Regions from separate parts of the Homo sapiens genome. Here region 1 is linked to region 2. The links are contacts of gene promoters, found by promoter capture Hi-C in blood cells and fetal thymus (Javierre and others, 2016). All regions are on one chromosome and are shown on one strand. Each heading gives the region's core, a stretch centred on a gene start or on the middle of the fragment in contact. The rest is flanking DNA. Distances are from core to core; before and after follow the strand shown. Region 1 holds the start of VRK3 (VRK serine/threonine kinase 3). Region 2 holds the start of ZNF565 (zinc finger protein 565).

Region 1 (3,639 bases), core at 558-3,057, about 14 Mb after region 2:
CTCTGACTTACTAGAATGTAAGCTTCATGATGGCGGGGACTTTTCCCTGCCTTGTTTGCCACAGTGTGCCCAGAGCCTCAAACAGGCCTGGCACAGAGCAAATGCTGGGTCTACGTCTGCTGAGTGAATAAATCATTGTCTCCTTTGCAAAAGAAAATGTGCCAAGAAGGTGGGTGGGGGGGGTCCCCAGCTGTGTCAGTACACATTCATCTCTCAGGCAAATCTAGACATCCAGCCAGAGACTCAAAGCTCAGGGCCGGAATTATCTAGCTGGATGGTCCCTAAAAAAGACGTGCCACTTAGAAGCAGATCAGTACAGGGGTTAAGAGGATAAACTTGGGAAATAATCTGCCTGGGTTTGGATCTTGCTTCTGCCATGTATTGCATGATGGACAGAGTTTTGCTATGTCACCCAGGTTGGAGAGCAGTGGCACGACCTCAGCTCACTTGCAACCTCCGCTTCCTGGGTTCAAGCGATTCTCCCTGCCTCAACCTCCCGAGTAGCTGGGATTACAGGCGCATGCCACCATGCCCGGCTAATTTTTTTATTTTTAGTAGAGATGGGGTTTCACCATGTTGGCCAGGCTGGTCTCGAACTCCTGAACCCAGGTGATCCGCCCACCTCGGTCTCCTAAAGTGCTGGGACTACAGGCGGGAGCCACCGTGCCCAGCCAAATTTTTTGGATTTTAGAACCTATTACATATTACAACACCGGCGAGATCCAGGGGCAACTCTCCATAAGTATATGATTTGCACAACAAAATCTTTAAAAATTCTAAATAGTCACACATCAGTTCAGAGTGGGTATTGCCAGCAAACAAGTTCAAAGCCAGGTGAGGTTGGCCTGCCAAGTAAGTTGCAAAACAGAGAAAAAGACCTTTCAGTTTTCAGAACGTTTTGGATTTTAAAGTTATAGATAAGGGACTGCAGACCTGTAAATATTCTTTAACATTTCTTTTTTAGTGTCTGGCATCCCCAACCACCCTGAGAATGTGAATTAGCTGGGCAGGATTTTTGTTTTAGACACTGCTATAATAACCTGGGCTTGAACAGTGCCTATTAGACTAGCACCGTTCAAACCCAGGTTATAGTAGTGTAATATCGGTTGCACGGAGCCTTCCATATAGTAAACGCTCAATAAAATTGGATGTGCTGAAGTCACCTATGCAATGGCCAGGTCAGGACTTGAAACCCTAAGACTCCAACCCTCAGGCCAGTCTTTATCTTAATTTATTTGACTTATTCAACAAATGTTTAGGGAACAGCTGCTATGCGTCAACTACTGTATAGTGTTCCTCCTAGAAAGTTCAGGAAACAGCACAGCAAAAAGGCTAAAAGTCAGACCCCACCTCAGCGCAGGTGGGGCGATTGCCTAGGCGACGACAGAGCCTCCCTTCGGCCGCACCTCCATAGAAACCACGGGATGACTTAGACGCCAAGTTTCACAGCGGAGGAGCTGTCGAACTTCCCACAAGTTCCGCCCATCTCCGCCTTAGCCATGCCCAACACGGAGCCCAAGGTGGCTTGGGAAGCTCAAGAGGAGGCCAGTGAACCCCGCGACCCGGAGCCGCTCTCATTCCGAACCCCGACAGCAGGGGCCTCCGCCTCCCACAAACGGTCGTGCTGACGTCACGGACGCCCCGGCCGAGCTGCGGCTAGGGGGTCGGGGGACGTCCCCTCGTTCGCCTCGCTTCCCCTCACCTCTGTACTTGGGGACTGGGGTGGGATTCTGGGCTTCTGCAGCCTGACCCTCGGATCCTCCGCAGTTACCCGGACTCACCTTCTCAGTTGCCCAGCGAAAACTTCCGCTGGGCGGAGAGCGCTGCGCGCGCATCCTGAATCTGAGGCGCCCGCGCAGGCGCCGCTGACTTCCTGACGGCCCCTGGGCTTCGCCTGCCTGGGAACTCCGTTTCCCAGATGCCTCCGCGGCAGGCCCGCCCTCTGATTCCAGACGGAATGGGGATTATTCCCTCATTGCTCATCCCCCTCCCCTCCGTTCTAGCCGCTTTGGAACGCCTTCTGGTTCTACTGCGCATGTGTCAGTGTCAGACCAATCGGAATGCACCGTGAGGTACCTCTCCACCAATCAGAGGTCACATTACCTAAACTTCTGCCTCAACTCCGCCCCTTACTTCCGCTTGTTTTCTCAGAAACCCGTCACAACGCGTTTCCATGGCAACCTACCGCTTGCTCTTCGGAAAAGGTTAACACTCCCTGACTTCTAGTAAAGGCAAGAAGCTAATTAGATGATTCTTTAACAAGGTAAAAATCTGGACTACAAACTGATGCCGCCTGGTCCTGATTCTCTTTCTACTCTACTCCCACAGTGCTAAGGCTGAAGAAGCAGGAGGAGATGGGAAGGCGAAAGAAGTCGCCCGCACAGCCCTCTGGGAAATAGAGTCCTGGCGCTGCCGCGGAGGATCCTGGGTGCAGCCGCTCAGAGAAGCTTCTCGCGCACAGGAAGTCGCTGCGAGGAGGCGCGTGTGCGGGGAGTTGAATCTCCCGCTCCCTTGAGGCTGGGGTTGCGTCTGTTGACGCGGCCGACTACAATCCCGAGGTACGGAGACGCTGGGGCTGAGGGACTTGCGGGCTCGGTCCTTCCTGAGAGGTGACGGAATGCAAGTGGGGGCGACTTCGGCAAAGGGTGCGTCGCCTTGGGCGGCGGTTGTCAGGGTGAAGGTGTGAACCGTCTTTCACAGTCTGTTATGAAAACCGCTCAAGGTCTGGGCACGGTAGATCACGCCTGTAATCCCAGCACTTTGGGAAGCCTTGGCGGGGGGGATCACTTACAGCCAGGAGTTCCTCGAACCCCCAGTCTCTACTAAAAATACAAAAATTAGTTGAGCGTGGTGGCGGGGGCCTGTAATCCCAGCTACTCAGGAGGCTGAGGCAGGAGAATCGCTTGAACCCAGGAGCTGGAGGTTGCAGTGAGCCGAGATCGCGCCATTGCACTCCAGCCTGGGTGACAGAGCGAGACTACATCTTAAAAAAAAAAAAAAAAAAAGAAAGGAAGAAAACCACCTTGGGAGGCTGAGGTGGGCGGATCGCTTGAGCCCAGGATTTCGAGGCTAGCCTGGGCCAGATGGTGAAGCCCTGTCTCCACAAAAGAAGAAAAAAATAGAAAAATTAGCCGGGCGTGGTGGTGCGCCCCTGTATTCCTAGCTAATTGGGAGGCCGAGGTGGGAGGATTGCTTGAACCCAGGAGGCAGAGGTTGCAGTGAGCTGAGAAAGAAAAGAAAAGAAAAGAAAACTGCTAAAGGGGTTTCCAGGCCTCCCTGATGGCCCTGAGAGGAGTGGTTCTGTTTTATTTTGGTTTTGGTTGGGGAAGGAGGGGAATGAGTTACCTGAAGTTGGCAAATTTAGGCAGAATCTTGCTGGACGATGGATGGGAGTTCTTCGGGAAGTTGAAGTACTTAACATTTACAGTATTTGAGTGCTTTCTGTGTGCCAGGCGCCCTGCTGGAGTTGCATTTCCTCTTCTGATCCCCGCAGCAGCACTGAGACATAAGTGCAGGTCCCCTTGGCACCAAGGCAATCTCGGGAATCAGAATTTTTCAGATTTTAGAAAGCTAATAGGGTGCATATTTTATAATTAGGCAGCACCCCCCCACACCCCGAGGAATCTGGGCCAGTTTTTG
Region 2 (3,311 bases), core at 763-3,262:
GGCCACCACACTCAGATAATTTTTAATTTTTTGTTTGTTTGTTTTTGAGACGAAGTCTCGCTCTTGTCCCCCAGGCTGGAGTGCGATGGCGCGATCTCGGCTCACTGCAACCTCTGCCTCCTGGGTTCAAGCGATTCTCCTGCCTCAGCCCCCTGAGCAGCTGGGATTACAGGCACCTGCCACCACGCCCAGCTAATTTTTGTATTTTTAGTAGAGACAGGGTTTTATCGTGTTGGCCAGGCTGGTCTAGAACTCCTGACCTCAGGTGATCCACCCGCCTCGGCCTCCCAAAGTGCTGGGATTACAGGTGTGAGCCACCGTGCCAGCCATTAATTTTTTTTTTTTTTTTTTGTACAGGCCAGGCTGGTCTCGAACTCCTGGGCTCAAGTGATCCTCCCACCTCGGCCTCCCAAAGGGCTGATGTGAGCCACCACACCCGGCCCTACATCCACTCCTGAGACACAGGACACAATCACAGACACCTCTATACCTTTCCAGTCACAATATCTTTCCAGTCACAATCACACACCCGCTAAGACACACCCAGTCACACAATCTACTCTCCACTGTGATACAGTTACTCCCGTATAGTCACAAGCCCCACACACCAACACCCACAAATGCCTCATATAGTCACAGTCACACACCCACTCAGGGGACACACGCCATCACTGGTACTTTACGGCACCCAGTCACAACTGAACTTTCACTGTGGACATACACACAGTCACACTCACACAAGCAACCCACACAAGCAGTGGCACCCCACTCCCGCATACACAGCACCACACACATACACACAAACACACACACCAAGGGATACAGGAATACACAAGCGGCGTCACCACACAGTCACAGGCACAGGCAATTGCACACGGCCACAGTGTCACACAACCAAAACCACGCACACACCTTGGAGACATGAATCACAACCGCACACCCGCAGTGGTCACACAGTCACAACTGTACTCACACCCCAGGAACAGGGCGAACAGGCCACATATACAACGGGGACACACGCAGTATCACCCCCGGTCACAAGGACCCTGCACCCCGATACTCTCTATCACACATGGTTACACAAAAACCACCAGACACCCTGGAGACAGGCGGTTACACGTGCACAGTTGCAGACACCCACACCCAGCCACACAGCCACAAAGACACATTCAGAACGGCGCATCCGCAGCCAGCTCCCGCCTGCGCGCACAGATTCGAGGCTCCGGACACGCCCCGGCCCCGCCCAGGACTCCCAGACCCCTCACCTTCTGCCTCCCCTGGTCGCGTCCGGGTCCTTGCGGAGCTAACTAGCTCGCCACGACGTCAAGAACGACGTAACGTCAGGCCGCTGTGGGCTCTGGGAATTGTAGTCCAGAGCTAGATCGGCCACGGACAGAATGGCGTTCTCTTATCTCTGAGTCGGGGCCTGGCTCGTTTTGACATTTTTGCGCCCACGAGTCTTCGGAGAGGGCGTCGCCACTCCAGACCTTCCAGCAAGCTTGAAGTCATCTGACGCTAAAGGACTACTTACCTCAAGAGCTCCATCGTCACAGAAGGAGGCGGCCAAGTTCGCGGGGGGAGGGGAGGAGACAGAGAGTCGACCAGTAAAGCCTCAAGGGAAATGTAGTCCAAGGCCTGAGAAGCGACGTTGCTGGTAATAGAAGGTAATTCAGTACCAGCCTGGGCCTGGCCGCGGTGACCGAGGCGGGCCGCGTCGCGGAGACTTCTGGGAGTGCTTCCTCGCTCTCCGAGTGCGCAAGCGCAGCGCACCGAGTGGACATTTTGGTCTTTGTCCGCGGGTCAGTACGGCCCCTGGGTCCACGTGGCGCGAAAGTAGGAGGTGGGATCTGGGCGTCTCGGGTCGGTCGGACCGGGGAGGTTAAAGGGGAGGATTCCTGATCTTTAGGGGCGCGGCGCGAGGGCAGGGAGTGGGTGTAAGAGCTTCTGGCCTACGTGCGGGGCGGAGATGGGGGCCTCTGAGGCGGGTTTGAGCGAGTGTGACCGAGTTTGTCCTCAAAGTTTGACCTGATGTTTGGGATTGTTGAGTGAATGTGAAACTGGGTGCGGGATTGTGTGTGATTGTGCCTAAGAGGGAGATGTAGGAGACCAGCATTGAGGTATAACGTTTGAGCTGCACTTCCCTTGTCGAAAGTGCTGATAATTATAACGGTGCCATCTTCCTGGAGCGTCTTTTTTACTTGAAAATTGAAGGGGTGGAAAAGCTAAGTGGTGAATAATTTTAAAACGAGTTTTTATATAAAAGCATTTCTTTTTAATTGGAGTGGCATGCAAATCACCGTGACTTTTTTTTTTAATTAAACGAGAGTGTTTCGAAGGAACTTTAGTTTCGGGGTGCCTACTTCAGACTATTCAAATCCCCATCTTTGGGGTACTTAAATAGGGCTGTTAAGCAAAGCCCTAGACTAAACAGCATTGTACGCTTTGAGAAGCAATCCCATATAACGGCGCCCAGGATGAGGGAGTCAACGGTTTTAGGTTAGGCACAGTTATCCTCATTTTTTGAAGAAAGCTTAATTGTTGCAGTGTTTATCTATGAGTCTGGACTAAATCCTAGGTGTCTTAATTCCTTAATGAGTCGAGGCGTTCTCAGGTTGTATGGATTTTGTGAAGTAATGGAGAATGCTACTGACGTCTCCAAAGATGCGTTTTCTAAGGAAATCACCCCGCCCCCGCTGTCGTCATTGACATAGTTTTAAATTACAAAAAGTTAAATAAAGTAATTGGGTACCAAGTTAATATCTATAAATAAATAGCCTTCTAATTTACAAATATCAGTTAGAATACATAGTTGAAGAAAACTAATATTTACAATAGCAGTAAAAAGATAAAGTATTGTGGAAGAAACTTAAAGGTTCAGAACTATTAGGAAAGAACTTTAAAATACTACTAAGGGGCATAACAAATGTGAACAAATAAATATACCATGTGACATTAAGAAGTGTGCGCAAACTTAAGTGAATGTATTAATTTACTGTGATCTTGGTCGGGTGCGGTGGCTCATGCCTGTAATCCTAGCACTTTGGGAGGCCGAGATGGGTGGATTACCTGAGATCAGGAGTTCGAGAGGAGCCTGGCCAACATGGTGAAACCCTGTCTCTACTAAAAAAAAATAAAATAAAAAAATACAAAAATTAGCCGGGCGTGGTGGCGGGCGCCTGTAATCTGAGCTACCGCGGAGGCTGAGGCAGGAAAATCGCTTGAACCTGGGAGGCGGAGGTTGCAGTGAGCCCAGATCTCGCCACTGCACTCCAGCCTGGACAAGAGCGAGATTCCGTCTCAATAATAGTAAT

Evidence for each region. Contacts are between HindIII fragments. The CHiCAGO score rates a contact against its expected background, and 5 or more counts as called.
Region 1: a contact is called between the fragment with the promoter of VRK3 here and a fragment that was not itself captured in region 2, in 2 of 17 cell types (fetal thymus and total CD8 T cells). The highest score is 6.8, in fetal thymus.

Annotation. Positions count from the first base shown.
Region 1 is chr19:50,023,565-50,027,203 of GRCh38, forward strand. It overlaps VRK3 (VRK serine/threonine kinase 3), which reads right to left and starts at 1,808. Exons shown (of 15, transcript NM_016440.4): 1 at 1,703-1,808. It overlaps ZNF473 (zinc finger protein 473), which reads left to right and starts at 2,441. Exons shown (of 5, transcript NM_015428.4): 1 at 2,441-2,558. RefSeq lists enhancers at 1,114-1,615, 1,665-1,744, 2,085-2,134, 2,545-2,594. The HindIII fragment of the contact is 2,425 bases long and covers 21-2,445 here.
Region 2 is chr19:36,213,357-36,216,667 of GRCh38, forward strand. It overlaps ZNF565 (zinc finger protein 565), which reads right to left and starts at 1,309. Exons shown (of 5, transcript NM_152477.5): 1 at 1,266-1,309. It overlaps ZNF146 (zinc finger protein 146), which reads left to right and starts at 1,750. Exons shown (of 4, transcript NM_007145.3): 1 at 1,750-1,840. RefSeq lists enhancers at 1,264-1,693, 1,804-1,993. The HindIII fragment of the contact is 1,032 bases long and covers 1,497-2,528 here.